6 separate regions of the Homo sapiens genome follow, and regions 1, 2, 3, 4 and 5 are each linked to region 6. The links are contacts of gene promoters, found by promoter capture Hi-C in blood cells and fetal thymus (Javierre and others, 2016). All regions are on one chromosome and are shown on one strand. Each heading gives the region's core, a stretch centred on a gene start or on the middle of the fragment in contact. The rest is flanking DNA. Distances are from core to core; before and after follow the strand shown. Region 1 holds the start of TNFRSF10A (TNF receptor superfamily member 10a). Region 2 overlaps RHOBTB2 (Rho related BTB domain containing 2). Region 3 holds the start of TNFRSF10B (TNF receptor superfamily member 10b). Region 4 holds the start of TNFRSF10D (TNF receptor superfamily member 10d). Region 5 overlaps RHOBTB2-AS1 (RHOBTB2 antisense RNA 1). Region 6 holds the start of PPP3CC (protein phosphatase 3 catalytic subunit gamma).

Region 1 (2,730 bases), core at 120-2,619, 780 kb before region 6:
GGCCCAGGCTGGAGCGCAATGGCTCCATCTCGGCTCCCCGCAGCCTCTGCCTCCCGGGTTCAAGCGATTCTCCTGCCTCAGTCTCCCGAGTGGCTGGGATTACAGGCATCCGCCACCACGCCCCGCTAATTTTGTATTTTTAGTAGAGGCTGCGTTTCTCCATGTCGGTCAGGCTGGTCTCGAACTCCTGACCTCAGGTGATCCGCCCGCCTCGGCCTCCCAAAGTGCTGGGATTACAGGCGTGAGCCACCGCGCCCGGTCGAAAAGAGTCTTTTCAACAAATGGTACCGGAACACCATTAAAATATGGAGAAAAATGAACATCAATCAGCGCCCCCTTTCTCTTACCCACTCCTCAGCCCCAAGGTCGCCCTGGGAGTTCTTCGCAGGCAGGACCGTGACTCGCGTGGCTTTCGGGAGGCTGATTACCCACGCCCCATGCCCGTGCAGCGCTGGGTGCAGAGGAACCGCTGGAAGGACCTGTCCCCCGTGGGACCCCCACCAAGTCTCATCCCGTGTCATGTGCCAGATAGTCTCCCGTGGTTTAAGGACTTTCAAGACTCTTAACAGGTTAGGAAAATCCAGAAGAAAGGCAGAATTGGGTCCCTCGGGCTTGCCTGACACCAGGGACGGTGGAGTTGAGGTGACATTTCACTGGCATGGAGACCTGAAACCAAAAGCAGGATGAGCCGGGCACGGTGGCTCACGCTTGTAATCCCAGCACTTTGTAAGGCCGAAGCGGGCGGATCACGAGATCAGGAGCTCGAGACCAGCCTGGCCAAAACAGTGAAACCCCCGTCTCTACTAAAAATAGAAAAAAAATTAGCCGGACGTGGTGGCGGGCACCTGTAATCCCAGTTACTCAGGAGGCTGAGGCAGGAAAATCGCTTGAACCTGGGAGGCGGAGGTTGCAGTGAGCCGAGATCGTGCCACTGCACTCCAGCCTGGGCGACAGAGCTTGACTCCATCTCAAAAAAAAAAAAAAAAAAAAAAGGCAGGCTGAATCACTCGCCCGGTAGTGACGGAGGAGGCCGTAAAAGCCTCTTAGAGGCCAGACCCCGCAGTGGCCTCTGTGTCCTTCATTCCGCCACCCATCCGTCCACCGAGCGCCTGCTGGGTGCCAGGAACTGGGTCACAGAAAGGCTGAGGTCAACTCCCGACCGAGAAGCCTGGCGCTGGGACCAAGTGGCAAAACGACTCCGAATGCAGCGGCATCCACGCGGCGGCCGTGGTTGAGGAACAGAAGCTGAGAGCGGCAAGGGCGGTCACAGAGGAAGGAAGTTCAGGGTTAGCCAACAGGAGCCGCAGGTGCCCCGAAAAGGGGGCGGGGTCAGGGGTGCCCTGAACTCCGAATGCGAAGTTCTGTCTTGTCATAGCCAAGCACGCTGCTTCTTGGATTGACCTGGCAGGATGGCGCCACCACCAGCTAGAGTACATCTAGGTGCGTTCCTGGCAGTGACTCCGAATCCCGGGAGCGCAGCGAGTGGGACAGAGGCAGCCGCGGCCACACCCAGCAAAGTGTGGGGCTCTTCCGCGGGGAGGATTGAACCACGAGGCGGGGGCCGAGGAGCGCTCCCTACCTCCATGGGACAGCACGGACCCAGTGCCCGGGCCCGGGCAGGGCGCGCCCCAGGACCCAGGCCGGCGCGGGAAGCCAGCCCTCGGCTCCGGGTCCACAAGACCTTCAAGTTTGTCGTCGTCGGGGTCCTGCTGCAGGTGAGTCCCCACCGCGGTCCTGCCTGGGGAAAAGCGCGCCTGGCACCGGGAGGGGGCAGAGAGAGAGGGGGACGCGGCGGGGGTGCCTGGCCCGGGTCACTTGTGGCGGGGCATGTCCGGGCAGGAGGAGCCCGTCGTCGGAGTCGGAGGAAGAACGGGGTCCCCGGGGCCAGGCAGGAGCGACCCGGGCCTGGAGGCAGCAGAGCCCCCTCCCGCAGGAGGCTGGGCCCGGGGACTCCACCCCGTTGGCTGCTGCCTGGCGCGTCTCCCTCCTGCCCACACCTCACGATGTATCGGGAAGTTTCGGAATCGATAGAGCTCAAGTGTGTAAACTTCCAAGCCAACTCCCAGCCACACCAGCTGCGTGAAGGGGAGCGCCATTCTCCCCACTCCCTGATTCCCTCCCCACCCCCGTCCTTCTTTTCTTCTCTTCTTTTTTTTTTTTTTTTTTTTTTTGAAACGGAGTCTCTCTCTGTCGCCCAGGCTGGAGTGTAGTGGCGCGATCTCGGCTCACTGCAAGCTCCGCCTTCCTGGTTCAAGCGATTCTCCTGCCTCAGCCTCCCGAGTAGCTGGGAGTACAGGCTCCTGCCACCACGCCCGGCTAATTTTTTGTATTTTTAGTAGTCACGGGGTTTCACTGTGTTAGCCAAATCCGCCCGCCTCGGCCTCCCAAAGTGCTGGGATTACAGGCGTGAGCCACCGCGCCCGGCCCTCCATCCTTCTTTTCTTAGACAAATTGGTTAAACACGCAGCCCGGCAGGAAAAAGTAACTTTCTCTCCTCTGCTCGTTGTCTTCCGTTTCGAGTCCACTGAGCACACCGGCAGCAGTTTCCTTCCAGCCACTTTCTTGCGCATCAACAGGTACAGGGCAGCGAATTGACCACCACGAGGCAGGCAGCCAGGAGCGGGGCACGCCCTTCCTTCAGGAGGCAGCGTTTCCTGTGAAAGCAATCACTCAGTCTGGAAAAATGCCAATGCCTTCAGTTCTCTTTCAAGTTCATTAAGGCTCTACCAA
Region 2 (3,016 bases), core at 1-2,500, 570 kb before region 6:
GAATGTTGGCCACCATCATGCGCAGATCAAAGACCTCGAGCAGCTCAGCAATGTGGGCAATGTGCATGAGGTCACGCTCGTTCTCATCTAGCTCCCCCGTGTACAGGTACTTGAGGACAGCCCGGAAGGGCCCCGGCTGGATGGAACTGTCCATCTTCACCACCACCATCAGCCGGGATTTGTAGGTGAGAGGATCTTCTGCCATCTCTTCCTGGATGCTCACAAAAGCTCGGCTCCAGGAAGACAGCACACGACCCCTGCCCGGTAGGTACCCTGTTCCGTTGCCCCGTAAGATCCCGTCGCTGGTGGAAGCACGGAGGCCAGCAGGACCGGAGCCCCCAGCCTCATCCACGCTCTCGCACACGTCAAAGCTGGCTGCTCGGAGCAGGAAGTCTCGCCCATGGTGGTGGTGGTGATGGTGGTGGTGTTGATCAGAGTGGCCCTGGTGGTCCTCTGGGTGGGTGCCCCCTGGCTCCGAGGGGCCCCCCAGCTCCCCCTCACTCAGGTCCATGAGGAACAGGTCATAGAACTTGGAGGAAGAGGTGGAGAGGTAGATCTTGTGGGCAAAGATGCGCACCCGCTCCTGCAGCACCAGGATGACGTCCGCGCAGAGCGGGTCCTCCAGGAGGTGGGCGGGGCACTCCTCGCTGCTGGAGGGAGGGTCGGGCACCACGATGATCGGGGGCGGTGGCTTGGGGGGTAGGAAGGGTGCCTGCAGCAGAGGCCGCTGCACATTGCGGAGGTGGGACTTCCAGAACTGCAGGTGGCGGCGGGAGATGAGTGCAGCTCGGATGGCGTTGTCAAAGACGTCCTTGATGCCGAACTGGGCCACCACGCTGGTCTCATAGTAGGGGATGCCCAGCTCCTTGGCCACCTCCCGACCCTTCTCTGGGGGCAGGATTTCATTAGGTTTGATGGGCCTGGTAGGTTCAAGAAGGAAACCAAGCTTGTGTTGGTGGTGGAGGGAGGCTGCCTGTTCTTCCACAGGCTGGAGGGACTCTGCTCAGGATCTGGGTGCCAATCCCCACCCACTCCTGCCCTGCTCTGTCTGGCCAAATCCCATCAAGCTCCTTCAAGGTCCACTCCAAGCCCTTTTTCTTCCAGAAAGCTTTCCCTACTATGCCAGGCCCCAGTGACCTCCCCAGTACAAAGCCGTGACAGCACTGCCTCTCTGGCAATTAGCAGGCAATGCTTCACATGGGTATTTAACATGCTCACATATTTAGTTTATCCCTCAGCAAAATTATAGGACTTTTTCATGCAAATATCACCTCTTCCTCTCTATTTTTCTTCATGATGCTTTACATAGCACTGCCCACACCAGAGGTGTGCAACAGGTATATGAATGAATGAATGAATGAGCATGCTTGTTGACTCCCAATGCAAGCTTGCTCCAAATGGAGGGAGAGATATGAGGCTCAGTGGAATTCCCCCAGGGCTGAGCAGGGAGCCATGGTGAGGCACCCATCCATGTCTGTCTCCTTGGTACCAGCACCTCCTACCTAGCCAAGGGTCGCCTAGCCCTGTTGACAGCCTCCAGGTCAGCGTAGCGCAGGTCCAACTGGCAGCCCACCAAGATGACAGGTGCTCGGGGGCAGAAGTGCTTGATTTCTGGGTACCACATGGTCTTGACATGGTGGAGGGAATTGGGGTTGGCAATGGAGAAGCACAGAACCACCACATCAGATCTGCGGGTGGGAAAGTAAGGTTACGGGCAGAGAAACAAGTGGTAGCTTACCTGGTCCTGGAACATCTGCCCCACCCCAGCCCTGTACAGTCCCACACCTGGCTTAGGTATCTGCTCACGTGCTCTTGACACAAAACATATAATCACAATACCTCCAATTTATGTGCCACTTTAGAGCTCAAGACTTGTTTTGGCCTCACAGCTATTTTGTGAGTTAGAAATGGCTGTTTTCACCACTTCACAGCTGAGAAACATCATCTCAGAGCTACTAGGCACAGAGCTGGAACTCAATCCAGGCTTCCTGATCCCGGACCCAGGCTCCCTTCACTGCACCAGGCTGCCCCAGCCCCCATGAGGCTCTGCCAGAGCTGTTTTCTCCACTTCTTCTTGCCAGCTGAAATTTCACAGAGGTGCTTTGTTCCTGGGAAAAGCAGGGAAAAACCCACCCTGTTGGTTCTCTGCAGGCGGCTAGAGGCCTTCCCTACCTCCCATAAGCAAAGCGACGGTCTTTGTGGTGGTCTCCAAAGGTGTCCCAGAGGCGCAGAGAGACGCTGACATCATCTACCACGTCTCGGGAGCGTTCCAGCACCTGGGGACGGGGAGGAAGAGTGGGACTCGAAGGCAGCAGTTTTGGGGACCTCTGCGTGCCACCTCAGGATAAGCGCCGGCTGACACCTGGGGGCCCCAGACATCACTGGGCATGGAGGGACAAGGCTGGCATCGCCCACTGTGCACCCTGCACAACTTTCATCCACGTAAAATCTCTGTAGAATCTATAACAAGGGTGGCCTCCAAGCTGACCAGGAGTGGAAGAGACCCTAAGCAGGTGGAAGAGACACTAAGAGGGTAGCAGAGACCCTAAGGGGGTGGAAGAGACCCTAAGGGACTGCTATGGGTGTGGAAGGGGCCTCTTTGGGAGCTGACCCTTGTTCCTGGCTTTCCTTGCAAACTGCATGTTTGTGAGCCTCTGGTCTTTTGCTATCAGCTGCCAGCTTCTTTGCTCCTCTCAGCTTGTATCTCTTCCAAGCCCCAGCCCTCCAGTGCTCCCCATTACTTAAGGCTGTGACTACATACAATGCGGTACCCCAGACAAAGATGGAGTCCCAGGCACCAGCTCAGTCCCTGAAAACACAACCAGCCAGAGACACTTCCCTGGGGCAGACTTGGCTTAAACCTCTCTCCAGGGGCTCCTTCCTCTTCAGCTGCCCCCAACCCATCCTGTCCCACCCCTAGAGGGCTCCCGTGAGCTCTGGAGACACCAAGCTATGCCTCAGGAAGCCCCCAAGCCCAGACTCATGGCGTGGACCCCCAGCCAGGTAGTCCTGCAGC
Region 3 (2,710 bases), core at 146-2,645, 630 kb before region 6:
CGCCCTGTCAAAACAGACCACTCCGCTCTACCAATCAGCAGGGTGTGGGTGGGGCCAGATAAGAGAATAAAAGCAGGCTGCCAGAGCCAGCAGTGGTAACACTGTGGAAGCTTCCTTCTTTCCCTCTGCAATAAATCTTGCTACTGCTCACTCTTTGGGTCCACACTGCCTTTATGAGCTGTAACACTCACCTTGAAGGTCTGCAGCTTCACTCTTGAAGCCAGCGAGACCACGAGCCCACCAGGAGGAAAGAACAACTCCAGACCCACTGCCTTAAGAGCTGTAACACTCACTGGGAAGGTCTGCAGCTTCACTCCTGAGCCAGTGAGACCACGAACCCACCAGAAGGAAGAAACTCCGAACACATCCGAACATCAGAAGGAACAAACTCCAGACACGCCGCCTTTAAGAACTGTAACACTCACCGCGAGGGTCCGAGGCTTCATTCTTGAAGGCAGTGAGACCAAGAACCCACCAATTCCGGACACAGTACCATGAAGGAATGAAAATACATAACAATGTGATGTATCATGTTTTATTTCCTAGACTAGTGACAAATGAAAGCTAAGTGTAGCAAGGGTGCAGGGACACAGGCACATTTGTGGACTAGGTGTGAGTGTAAGCTGGGTTCGATGGTCTTTTGGCCAACATAGTGAACCCCTGTGTCTACTAAAAATACAAAAATTAGCCAGGCGTGGTGGTGCAGGCCTGTAGTCCCAGCTACATGGGAGGCTGAGGTGGGAGTATCGCTTGAACCTGGGAGACGGAAGTTGCAGTGAGCCGGGATCACACCACCGCTCACCAATCTGAGCCACAGAGAGACTGTCTCAAAAAATAAACCACAAGGAAGGGAGGTAGGGGGAGGGGGAGGGAGGGAGGAAAGAGAAAGAGAGAAAGGAAGGAAAGAGAAAGCAGGAAGGACGGAAAGAAGACGAAAGAACGAAAGAAAACGAAAGAAAAAAGGAAAGAAGAGAGAAGGAGAGAACAGAAGGGGCAGGTGCCCCTGGGAAGGGGAGAAGATCAAGACGCGCCTGGAAAGCGGACTCTGAACCTCAAGACCCTGTTCACAGCCAAGCGCGCGACCCCGGGAGGCGTCAACTCCCCAAGTGCCTCCCTCAACTCATTTCCCCCAAGTTTCGGTGCCTGTCCTGGCGCGGACAGGACCCAGAAACAAACCACAGCCCGGGGCGCAGCCGCCAGGGCGAAGGTTAGTTCCGGTCCCTTCCCCTCCCCTCCCCACTTGGACGCGCTTGCGGAGGATTGCGTTGACGAGACTCTTATTTATTGTCACCAACCTGTGGTGGAATTTGCAGTTGCACATTGGATCTGATTCGCCCCGCCCCGAATGACGCCTGCCCGGAGGCAGTGAAAGTACAGCCGCGCCGCCCCAAGTCAGCCTGGACACATAAATCAGCACGCGGCCGGAGAACCCCGCAATCTCTGCGCCCACAAAATACACCGACGATGCCCGATCTACTTTAAGGGCTGAAACCCACGGGCCTGAGAGACTATAAGAGCGTTCCCTACCGCCATGGAACAACGGGGACAGAACGCCCCGGCCGCTTCGGGGGCCCGGAAAAGGCACGGCCCAGGACCCAGGGAGGCGCGGGGAGCCAGGCCTGGGCCCCGGGTCCCCAAGACCCTTGTGCTCGTTGTCGCCGCGGTCCTGCTGTTGGTGAGTCCCCGCCGCGGTCCCTGGCTGGGGAAGAGCGTGCCTGGCGCCTGGAGAGGGCAGGGAGAGAGGGGGACACGGCGGGGGTGCGTGGCCCGGGTCGCCTGCGGCCGGGCATGTCCGGGCAAGACGCACCAGTCGTCGGAGTCGGGGGAAGAGATGGGTCCCCGGGTTGGGCAGGAGCGACCTGGGCCGCCAGGGAACAGAGCGCGCGCTCCACTTGGTGTAAATTCCCGAATCCAGTGGGGGAGGGCGACAAGGAGGGAATTCCCGAGTAAGCTGCGTGAAGCCACGGAGAGGTCGTCGGACTTTGATTTTGTTTTCTTTCCTTACTTTCTGTTTCTTTCTCTTTTTCTCTTTCTTCCTTTCTTTCCCTCCCTTCCTTCCTCGCTCAGTTCCTGCCTTAATTTCTTTTTCTTTTGCGCCTTCGAATGAATTCCTAAAGGCGCTCATTGCAGATCGCTTTGAACCTGCGGCCGGCGAAGAACTCCCCTGTGGTCGCTGCGGCCCAGTGGTTCCGTTCCGTGCGCGGGAGTCGTCGCGGGCGCAGCTGGAGAGGCCCCTTCCCCTCCTTAGCGGCTGCGCCCCTACGCGTGCGGGGCCGCTCATCGCCAATGCCATTGTTTGGGGTTCCTTGGGAAAACGAGATTTAGGAGAAGGGAGTTGTGGCACTTGGGGCCTGACCTGCTTGATAATAGCAGCTGCATTTTGGCCTGGGAAGAGCCTTTCTTGCCACCTCTTGGCAAGTATCCGTGATAATGGGGAAGGGACAAAGAGTCGGCTTTGTAGGGAACAGCATGGTGTGCTCAGCGCCTGGAACTGCGCTTGGGGCCAGGAGAGGTTCTGAATCATCACATTTTACAGAGGAAGAGACCGCAGCTCAGAGTGGGGAAGTGTGTGGGCCTAGACCTAACTCAAGACTGTACAGAGGGGCTGGAAGGGAGAGGAGGAACAGTGAAAGGAAGGTCAAGAGAATGCTGGTGTTGACCTAGAAGAATGTCAGTGTGAAGCATTGGAGTTTCATGGGATATTGTTACA
Region 4 (2,966 bases), core at 329-2,828, 720 kb before region 6:
TGGGGCCTGACACACATTTCTGACCCTAGCTCAGTGCCTGGGGCCTGACACACATTTCTGAGTCTAGCTCAGTGCCTGAAACCTGGCGCACATTTCTGACCCTAGCTCAGTGCCTGGGACCTGGCACACATTTTTTTTTCTTTTTTTTTTTTTTCACAGAGTCTCGCTCTGTCACCCAGACTGGAGTGCAGTGGCACGAATCTCGGCTCACTGCAACCTCCATTTCCTGGGTTCAAGCAATTCTCCTGCCTCAGCTTCCTGAGTAGCTGGGATTACAAGTGCCCGCCACCACGCCCAGCTAATTTTTGTATTTTTAGTAGAGATGGGGTTTAACTATGTTGGCCAGGCTGGTCTCGAACTCCTGACCTCTTGATTCGCCCACCTCAGCCTCTCAAAGTGCTGGGACTACAAGCGTGAGCAACCGCGCCCGGCCCTGGCTCACATTTCTGACCCTAGGTCATTGTCTGGGCCCTGGAAGGTGCTCAGGGTGATCCATCGCTCAAATCCAAGCCTGTGGAGAGGATGACATTTCATTCCCAGGTTTCTCATGAGCCAAAAAACCTTCATTTCTATAGCGCTATCCTCTTCTATCTACCATGTGAGGGGTCAGGAGCCGACTCATCCCAAGGGTCTAGGAGTCCTGCCATTGACCTTACTGCTTAGGGTCACAAGCTGGCACCCTTCAAAACCACACATTGGGTCTGCCCTCACAGCGGCAGTGTGTTCAACTGGATGGGGAGGTAAGTAGCCCAAGGTCAGACAGTTGGACCTGGGTAGACAATAGACTTGGGGACAGACTTTGGAAGGCACTCCCCTGATTCCCCTGTCTCCATGGGGCCTCAATACTAGAGCCCTCAAGGTTGGTCAGGGAGTGTTTGTGCTTTGACCATGCAAAGGGTGCCAGGTTGTGGCTAGGGATGCCCCCGGCGTTCCTCTCCCTCCTACCTACTCCTCAGCCTCTGCAGGTGCCTGTCATGGCCTCTGTGTCCTTCATTCTGTCCACTCATGTGTTCACTGGGCCCCTCCTTGGTGCCAGGCACCCGCTACTGAGGGATACCAAGCCCCTGCCAGAGAAGCTTGGAGCTGGGTCACAGCAGCAAGGAGGCTGGAGACATCAGTGGCATCAGTGCACTGGTCAGTGAGGCCGCTGTGGGAGGAGGGAGTGGGAGCAGAAGCTAAGAGTGGACTGAAGTCCTGAGGCCAGGAAGTAGTTCAGGGTTTAAGAAGAGGAGAGACAGGCGGCCCGGGGAGGGAGCAGGCTCAGGATGGGCCTCCAGTGCCTCCTCTGGAGCTCACTACCCAGACTACAGCAGCGCAGCGGGCAGCGCCTCAGCTCCTTCCCCTTCTGCTGCCTACAGCCTGGACAGGACCCGGAATCAAACCGCAGGCCCTGGGTCACCGCTGCCGGAAAGAGCCAGTTCCTGTCCGTCCATGCACCCACCCACACAACCTGGGCCCTCCTGGAGGTGCTGGGGGAGACCCAGCCTGAGTGCCTGGAAGTGACTGCGGGAAGGGAGTACAACTGACCACGCCTTTTTTCCGGGGTATAAAAGCGGAGGAGCACGTTCTATTCTGGCAGTGTAGCTGCGAGAACCTTTGCACGCGCACAAACTACGGGGACGATTTCTGATTGATTTTTGGCGCTTTCGATCCACCCTCCTCCCTTCTCATGGGACTTTGGGGACAAAGCGTCCCGACCGCCTCGAGCGCTCGAGCAGGGCGCTATCCAGGAGCCAGGACAGCGTCGGGAACCAGACCATGGCTCCTGGACCCCAAGATCCTTAAGTTCGTCGTCTTCATCGTCGCGGTTCTGCTGCCGGTGAGTCTCCGCCGCGGTCCCTGGCTGGGGAAGAGCGCACCTGGCGCCGGGAGTGGGCAGGGAGAGAGGGGGACACGGTGGGGATGCTTGGCCCGGGTCGCCTGCGGCCGGGCATGTCTGGGCAGGACGAACCCGCCGTCGGAGTCAGGGGAAGAGTGGGGTGCCCGGGCTGGGCAGGAGCGACCGGGCCGCGAGGGAGCAGAGCGCGCGCTCCCCCTGGCTGTCCCGTGCGGCGAGGACCGCACTGAGCTGCCCCAGAGGAAGTTCCAGAATCAGCGGAGGGAGGGAGTCAAGATGGAAACCCCGGAGTGAACCTCAGGAAGCCACAGAGCGGTTGCCTCTTTCGTTCGTTCGTTCGTTCGTTCGTTCATAACGTTAACCCAGGCCGGTCGCGGTGGCTCACGCCTGTAATCCCAGCACGTTGGGAGGCCGAGGCGGGCGGATCACCTGAGGTCAGGAGTTGGAGACCAGCCTAGCCACCATGGTGAAACCCCGTCTCTACTAAAAATACAAAAATTAGCCGGACGTGATGGCGGTCGCCTGTAATCCCAGCTACTCGGGAGGCTGAGGCAGAAGGAGAATCACTTGAATCCGGGAGGCGGAGGTTGCAGTGAGCCGAGATCGCGCCATCGCACTCCAGCCTGGTCAACAAGAGCGAGACTCCGTCTCAAAAAAAAAAAAAAAAAAAAAAAAAAAGTTAGCCAGGCGTGGCAGCCTGCGCCTGTAGTCCCAGCTACTCAGGAGGCTGAGGCAGGAGAACTGCTTGAACCCGGGAGGCAGAGGTTGCAGTGAGCCGAGATTGCACCACTGCACTCCAGCCTGGGCGACAGAGCGAGACTCTGCCTTAACAAAAACAGACAAACAAACAAACAAAATTAACCCTATGTTTACACTGTTACACGTGTTTCTTGGAGATCAGTTTAACAAACAGCCTGTGAAAAAGCTTTCCAACGCTGTTTTTTGTAACTTTCATTTCCTATAGAACCCTGAAAGTGGCAGGAAGCGGTTAACCAAGGTGCTTGCAGTCAGTGTCTTCCACTGCCACCCGTGTGTCCCCTCTGTATCCCATAGGCAGGACCGCGGGATGGCCCCTTCCTTAGGCATAAAAGATGTAAAGTTCTCGTTGTGAGTTGGGTTTGGAAACTGA
Region 5 (3,050 bases), core at 72-2,571, 510 kb before region 6:
GAATCTTCAAAGCAACTGCAATTGTTAAAGTCTGTACATTGGTCTAGAGTCCTGGAGGACATGGAGCCAGAGTGGGGATAAACTTGGCATTCGGTAAACCTCGGGGGCCACAGTTGTCCCAGTAGGTTCCTTTTAATGGTTTGGGATGCAAGTGCTCTTCCGAAAGGCGGTGCAGGGGCTACTGCAGTGCGGAGTCATTTGCACTCACAGTCTCTTCCTAGAGCTTCCCCGCTTTTGCTGGGTTGTTGATTTTTTTCTGATTTGATTTGCAGGAGCTCTTTATACATTCTGGGAAAGTGGATCCTTTACTGGCCATAGGCAATGCAATAGTTTTTATCTGGGGTATCTTTTCTTTTTTTTGAGACAGAGTCTCACTCTGTCACCCAGGCTGGAGTGCAGTGGTGCAATCTCGGCTTATTGCAACCTCTGCCTCCCTGGTTCAAGCAATTCTCGTGCCTCAGCCCCCCAAGTAGCTGGGACTACAGGCGTGCTCCACCATGCCCAGCTAATTTTTGTATTTTTAGTAAGACTGGGTTTCACCATGTTGGCTAGGCTGGTCTCAAACTCCTGACCTCAAGTGATCTGCCCACCTCGGCCTCCCAAAGTGTTGGGATTACAGGCGTGAGCCACCGCACCCAGCCATCTGGGGCATCTTGACGAAAGAAAAGGTTTTTGTTTTAGATATAGTCAAATCTATGGTTTCCTTGGTACAGTTTGTGGTTTTTTTTCTGTCATATTTCCTTCCCTACCTTAAGGTACTAAAGATATTCTCCTGCATATTATTCTAAAGATTTAAAAGTTTCCATTTTAATATTTCATTTTTTAATCCACCTGAAATTTGTTCTGTTTAAAGTATGGCATCACAACATGATTTTATTTTTTCACAGTGAATCCAATTGTCTCAACACTATTTGTTGGATAGTGTGTCCTTTTCCCTATTCACTTGAAATGTCACCACTGCCAAGGAAGCTTGTAATAAACAAAAAAGATTATTAAGTGTCTGCAATAGAAAACGATACATAGCTTAGAGCTCATTCTTCCAGGTTCTCTGATTCATTGAATTAAGCTATTTTACAACTTTATACATTGTAGATAACTAGCAGCCAATAGAGTGATTTTTGTCTATACATACGTTAAAAAACAAAAACAGAAACAAAAACAAAACAAAACAAAACAAAAAAAACCTGTCTGGTGGAGCTTCAACTGACATTCCCTTTCCTGCTGTGGAAGAAGCCAGTTAGTTTTGCTGCCATTTTCATGTTCATGTCAATATCTCTGATCTATCAATGTGTCCATTCCTTGGATTGCCCTTGTAAGATCTTACCAGTTCCCTCATTAATGGTGAGTTAAATAAAAAATCTACCATGTGTTCATTTTATGTCTGTGTGAGAGTGATGATTTTACCCTTTTTGAAACCACCCTTTAACAGTCACATATCGATGGCATATAGCTTGAAGCAAACACAAAGGGATCAATTAGATAGCGATTATTCACTTATATAAGCTCTTCCTACATGACAATAGGATACGATTTACAAGTGTTTAGACCATTTTATCAGCAGCCAAGCCCTGAGTACAAAGGCAGCCTTGTACATCTGGCAGTGCTCTGACAGGCCAGGAAAACAAACCAACCATTCACATTCTTCTATGTATCATCATATTACAGGAAGCTTTTCAACATCGTGAGGATTGCATAATCAACTCTGAACATCTGGAATAGGAGCCTGACTGAACAGAGCAGAAGTGAACTTTCCCGGAGCTCCCATACTCCATCCACTCAACTCAACAAATGTTGACTTAGTGCCTATGATGTACAGCACTCAGTGCTAAAATGCAGTAGGGAAATAAATAAGTCTCTTTGGTCTGATTGAAATTAATTTCCTCATTTCTAAAGGAGGAACTAACCACATGGGCCCTACACTGAGAGATATGTTATGGGTTACCATTGCAACGAAAATGCAGGTTCAGTCACTCATCGCTTGCAGAATGCAATGAACAAGAGCAAGGTCTGATATTGTCAGGCAGATATGAGCAGGGCAGGAGAGGGTCCCTCCCACCCCAACCCCACCCCAGGAATGTCAGGTGGTCATCAAGTGATGGTCAGACTGTGGTTAGTTGTCTCTCTAAAATAATAATTGGTAGGAGCCAGCACCAGGGAAAGGCAGTCTGTCAACACATAGAAACACCTGAAGCTGGTGATCAGCAACAATAAGATCTTAGGAGTTGGGAGAGTGGGCTCAAGCATGCGCACCATGGGGCAAAATGGCGGAGTGTAACTGGTACATGACGTTCCTCTAGGAACACTCAATTGGTAAGGGAAAAGTGCCTCAAATGAGCACGTGTATAACTCCAGTAAACACGCCGCACATGTGGTTCCTCCTAAGTGCTGGCAGGCCACTGCGCAGGTGGACAGCCCACCCCAGGGGAAAAATCAGGGGAGAAGGGATGCAATTCCCCAGAAGCATGCCAATGTATAAGACCCCAAGTCAAAGGCCATACCAAGCACTTGATCTCTCAAGTAGCCCACTTGGTGCTCTTCCAAGTGCACTTTACTTCCTTTTGTTCCCGCTTGAAACTTTTTTTTTTGAACAGGAGTTTCACTCTTGTTGCCCAGGCTGGAGTGCAATGGTGCAATCTCGGCTCACTGCAATCTCCGCCTCCCGAGTTCAAGCAATTCTCCTGCCTCAGCCTCCCATGTAGCTGGGATTGCAGGCATGCGCCACTATGCCCGGCTAATTTTTCATATTTAATAGAGATGGGCTTTCACCACATTGGTCAGGCTGGTCTGGAACTCCTGACCTCAGGTGATCCACCTGCCTTCGGCCTCCCAAAGTGCTGGGATTACAAGCATGAGCCACCACACCCGGCCTCAAAAGCTTTGGAATACACTTTCACTCCTGCTGTAAAACTTGCCTTCCTCTGTCACTCTGCCTTATATCCTTCAGGTAAATTCCTTCTTCTAAGGAGGCAAGAATTGAGGTTGCTGCAGACCATTATGGATTCACTGCTGGTAACAGTATAAAGAAAGTGCCTTTATTCCAAGACTTAGCT
Region 6 (2,852 bases), core at 268-2,767:
ATAAATCTCAAAAATCCCATTATAATTATGTAGTACAGATAATTAACATTTATGAGGCTGATTTGGGGAGAGAGGGGGGAAACCTAAGTTATACACTAAAATTCTTCCCCCTCCCTGAACATGCAATAAGGCGTTTCACCTTTTAAAAATGTATTCCCGTCACTAGTATTAGTTGCCTTTCTCCTTCTAATACCAAAATGAAAAAGAAGAAAAGTATCTTAATAATTTTCCCCACTGTCACGCTAACCCCTGCATCCAGAGGCCACTAACACAGCTGGTCTAAGTCTATTCCCTTCTTACAAAATAGCGCTTTCAAACCGATTGTTAATCTCAGAGAGAAGGGTTGTGCCTAAGACTTACGGCTGAATAAAAGCAGCACATAAATTAGTGGTTATGTGTAATCCATCTTCTTAGTTTAAAGGGAGAAACAACTATAACCTAAAACTCTACAAGATTTAGAGAGCAAAGAGCCCTTTACATTTTGTTCTTATAACAACAACAGAAATCTAACGCAGGTACACATATGAATCAGAAAACGTCATTCTCCAAGTCTTTATAACCAAAGGGAAAATAAAATACCATTACCCTGTCAAGAGCTCCGTAAACTTATTTTAAACATCATATAATGGATTTATCTGACTTGTTCATACTAAGTTTATTCCAGTAATAGCAGTGACTTGCAATGATCTAGAGAAAGCGGGTCAAAAGGCACATGGTATACGTCCTAAAAAAGGGTGGGGGGCGGACGTCAAGAAAGATCTAATCTTAAATATCTTACTTGGAAGAGTCGACTCCCTGCTCACACCACCCCCGATGGCTTCCCCCGAGTCGTTTCTTAAAGAGAAAAAAAGACAGGGATCCGGGCCCTTCGGGGCGGTGGGAGAAGAAGTCCCCACTGCACCCTGAACCCTTCGGGAGGGAACTTGGCACTGACGGCCAGGCACCTGACCAGGTGCAGCAGAAAACGCCGGGTCCGGGTGGCTGCTCTCGGAGGCTGCCGCCCGGCTCTGTCTACACCCCTCCGAGCCCTCCTAGGGTGGGCGCAGCCCGGCCCCAGCCTCCCTCCGCCCCGAGCCGCCGCCCAGCCGAAGGCCGTTTCCCGCGGGTCCCAGAGGAAGGCCCGGCCCGCCAGGCACCTTTGATGACGCGGTCGGTGGTGGAGAGGTGGAAGCGCCTCCCGGACATGGTCCCCTCGGCCTCCTCCAGGCTCCAGGAGCCCGCCGGACGTGCGCCTACGCCGCGGCCGCCGCCTTCTCCTCGGGCAGCCTTAGCTGCCCGGAGCCGTCAGCCAGCCGTGCCCGGCCCCGGCTCCTCAGCGGTGTCCGAGCACCAGAAGGGCGCGGCCACCGCAGCGCCGGCCTCCGACGCCACTGACAGGACGAGGGCCCACCGGCCGCTCTCTTGGGAGGCGCCAGCGGCTAAGGCGGGGAACACCGCTTCGGCACCGACCGCGACCGCTGCTAAGGGTGGCGACCGGGACGGCCGCGGCTGCTCGCGGCCCGGGCCCTCGTGCACGCAAGCGCGCCCCCGAGCGCCGCTCTCACAACTTCCCAGCGGCCCCGCTGTCCTAGCGGACCCGGCCGGGCCTCCCGCCCCGAGCGCCGCCCTCCCCACCCTTCCGCCTTCCCGCGAGGCAGTAGAGCTCGGCGCACGCGCTGCTCTCGGCTCCTCCGGCTCCGGGTCCCTGCTGCTAACCGCCCATTTTCGCTTCTTCTCAGCCAGCCCTCCCCGCAGCCGGCCCCTTCTCTCCTGCCAGCCCCTACCCGGGCCCGGAACATCTGAAACCCGCCCGCGTGGCCCGCGCGACCCGCGCGGGAGGCCGGCCCGGCCATCTTGCGACCCGGCCCTGCGGCCTCGCAGCGGCTCCGCGCCGCCTCCTGGGACCGCCTCGCCGAGAACCCCTGGCCTCCCAGTCCTCGCCCACAGGCGACCACCCTCCTCACCTCTGGGTCTCCCACCCGCTTTGTCTCAAGGAGTGTGATCAGTCCGGCCGCGCTCCTTCAGTTTTTGTGGGTCATTCAACAAACGCACACATTTAAACCCCCTCGCTTCATCTTTCCCGCTTGTTGAGTGCAGTTAGTACAATGAGAAGGACATTCGTGTCCATCCTAGTTCCAGTCCAGTAGCTAGGGCGGTGGGGGATTGGGGGAGCTCCGTTTCTGAGCAAGGCTCTGCTCCCTCCTCACTTTCCACATCGAAGAGAAGGGAGATCTCTGCTCCTGGGACCCCCGGGCCGGACCTCCTCGGCCACAAGAACTGACCTCTTCCTATGCCCTGTGTGTCACCTGCCCAGCTAGAAGCCCCTTTTTTCTTCCCCCTGACACAGTACCTGCCTCCCCGGCCCAGGCTCACTGTGGAACCCCATGGGCAAGTCCGTAGAAACTTAACAGTCTGTTCATCTCGAGGTTAAAAACTAACCTTTATCTGTCCTTAAAACTGTAAGCCTAGAACAGAAACTGGCTCCAACTGTCCTCTCACTGAGTAACTGGCAAAGTCAAAAGGATTTTGACTTTTAGCAATGCAAATGAAATATTGAAACTGATGTCCAATAAAACATATGCAAGTTACAGGCAAAACCAGTCTTAACAATTACCGCAGTGACCGATAAGTAGTTGTAGCTATGTAAATTTAAATTAATCCCGTTCCTCTAGGGGACTAGCCACATTTCAAGTGTTCAAGAGCTACACGCGGCTACCTTATTGGACATCCAGAAAATTCTACTGGACAGCTGTTAGGTAAAAGATTATAGGATTAAGCGTAAATCTCCAATAATATGGATTTATGTATAGGCGGTCTGGGGATATATAGTGGAATCAGACCCTGAATTATCCCTTGGAATTTTGACCATAGCT

The links. The method cuts DNA at HindIII sites, captures the fragments that hold promoters and counts their contacts. A CHiCAGO score of 5 or more calls a contact.
Region 1: the fragment with the promoter of TNFRSF10A here is called in contact with the fragment with the promoter of PPP3CC in region 6 in 6 of 17 cell types (non-activated CD4 T cells, naive CD4 T cells, total CD8 T cells and 3 more); the score reaches 10.7 in non-activated CD4 T cells.
Region 2: a fragment that was not itself captured here is called in contact with the fragment with the promoter of PPP3CC in region 6 in 1 of 17 cell types (naive CD8 T cells); the score reaches 6.0 in naive CD8 T cells.
Region 3: a contact is called between the fragment with the promoter of TNFRSF10B here and the fragment with the promoter of PPP3CC in region 6, in 6 of 17 cell types (naive CD8 T cells, activated CD4 T cells, total CD4 T cells and 3 more). The highest score is 8.5, in naive CD8 T cells.
Region 4: the fragment with the promoter of TNFRSF10D here is called in contact with the fragment with the promoter of PPP3CC in region 6 in 2 of 17 cell types (fetal thymus and naive CD8 T cells); the score reaches 9.0 in fetal thymus.
Region 5: a contact is called between a fragment that was not itself captured here and the fragment with the promoter of PPP3CC in region 6, in 1 of 17 cell types (endothelial precursors). The highest score is 5.4, in endothelial precursors.

What each region holds. Positions count from the first base shown.
Region 1 is chr8:23,223,741-23,226,470 of GRCh38, reverse strand. TNFRSF10A (TNF receptor superfamily member 10a) reads left to right here and starts at 1,369. Exons shown (of 10, transcript NM_003844.4): 1 at 1,369-1,715. The coding sequence starts at 1,410. It overlaps TNFRSF10A-DT (TNFRSF10A divergent transcript), which reads right to left and starts at 1,250. Exons shown (of 3, transcript NR_033928.1): 1 at 348-1,250. RefSeq lists an enhancer at 977-1,116, silencers at 1,168-1,359, 1,527-1,776, promoters at 759-1,412, 1-1,412, 841-1,877 and a cis regulatory region at 1,798-1,877. The HindIII fragment of the contact is 5,488 bases long and covers 1-2,730 here.
Region 2 is chr8:23,004,632-23,007,647 of GRCh38, reverse strand. RHOBTB2 (Rho related BTB domain containing 2) reads right to left here. Exons shown (of 10, transcript NM_015178.3): 3 at 2,173-2,276; 4 at 1,503-1,688; 5 at 1-920. Among named protein-coding and RNA genes, the nearest start is that of RHOBTB2-AS1, 6.3 kb to the right of the region's middle. RefSeq lists an enhancer at 2,843-3,016. The HindIII fragment of the contact is 279 bases long and covers 1,111-1,389 here.
Region 3 is chr8:23,067,716-23,070,425 of GRCh38, reverse strand. TNFRSF10B (TNF receptor superfamily member 10b) reads left to right here and starts at 1,395. Exons shown (of 9, transcript NM_003842.5): 1 at 1,395-1,675. The coding sequence starts at 1,532. It also overlaps the pseudogene TNFRSF10B-AS1. RefSeq lists enhancers at 1-190, 972-1,141, 1,162-1,211, 1,752-2,011, a cis regulatory region at 1,405-1,410 and promoters at 865-1,535, 303-2,710. The HindIII fragment of the contact is 4,380 bases long and covers 113-2,710 here.
Region 4 is chr8:23,162,639-23,165,604 of GRCh38, reverse strand. It overlaps TNFRSF10D (TNF receptor superfamily member 10d), which reads left to right and starts at 1,578. Exons shown (of 9, transcript NM_003840.5): 1 at 1,578-1,819. The coding sequence starts at 1,670. RefSeq lists an enhancer at 1,721-1,840. The HindIII fragment of the contact is 1,686 bases long and covers 1,079-2,764 here.
Region 5 is chr8:22,952,441-22,955,490 of GRCh38, reverse strand. It overlaps RHOBTB2-AS1 (RHOBTB2 antisense RNA 1), which reads left to right. Exons shown (of 2, transcript XR_007060857.1): 2 at 1,666-1,872. It also overlaps a transcript of RHOBTB2 not described here. Among named protein-coding and RNA genes, the nearest start is that of PEBP4, 26 kb to the right of the region's middle. RefSeq lists enhancers at 2,097-2,727, 2,728-3,050. The HindIII fragment of the contact is 700 bases long and covers 972-1,671 here.
Region 6 is chr8:22,439,743-22,442,594 of GRCh38, reverse strand. It overlaps PPP3CC (protein phosphatase 3 catalytic subunit gamma), which reads right to left and starts at 1,517. Exons shown (of 14, transcript NM_005605.5): 1 at 1,137-1,517. The coding sequence starts at 1,185. RefSeq lists silencers at 995-1,654, 1,745-1,934. The HindIII fragment of the contact is 13,070 bases long and covers 1-2,852 here.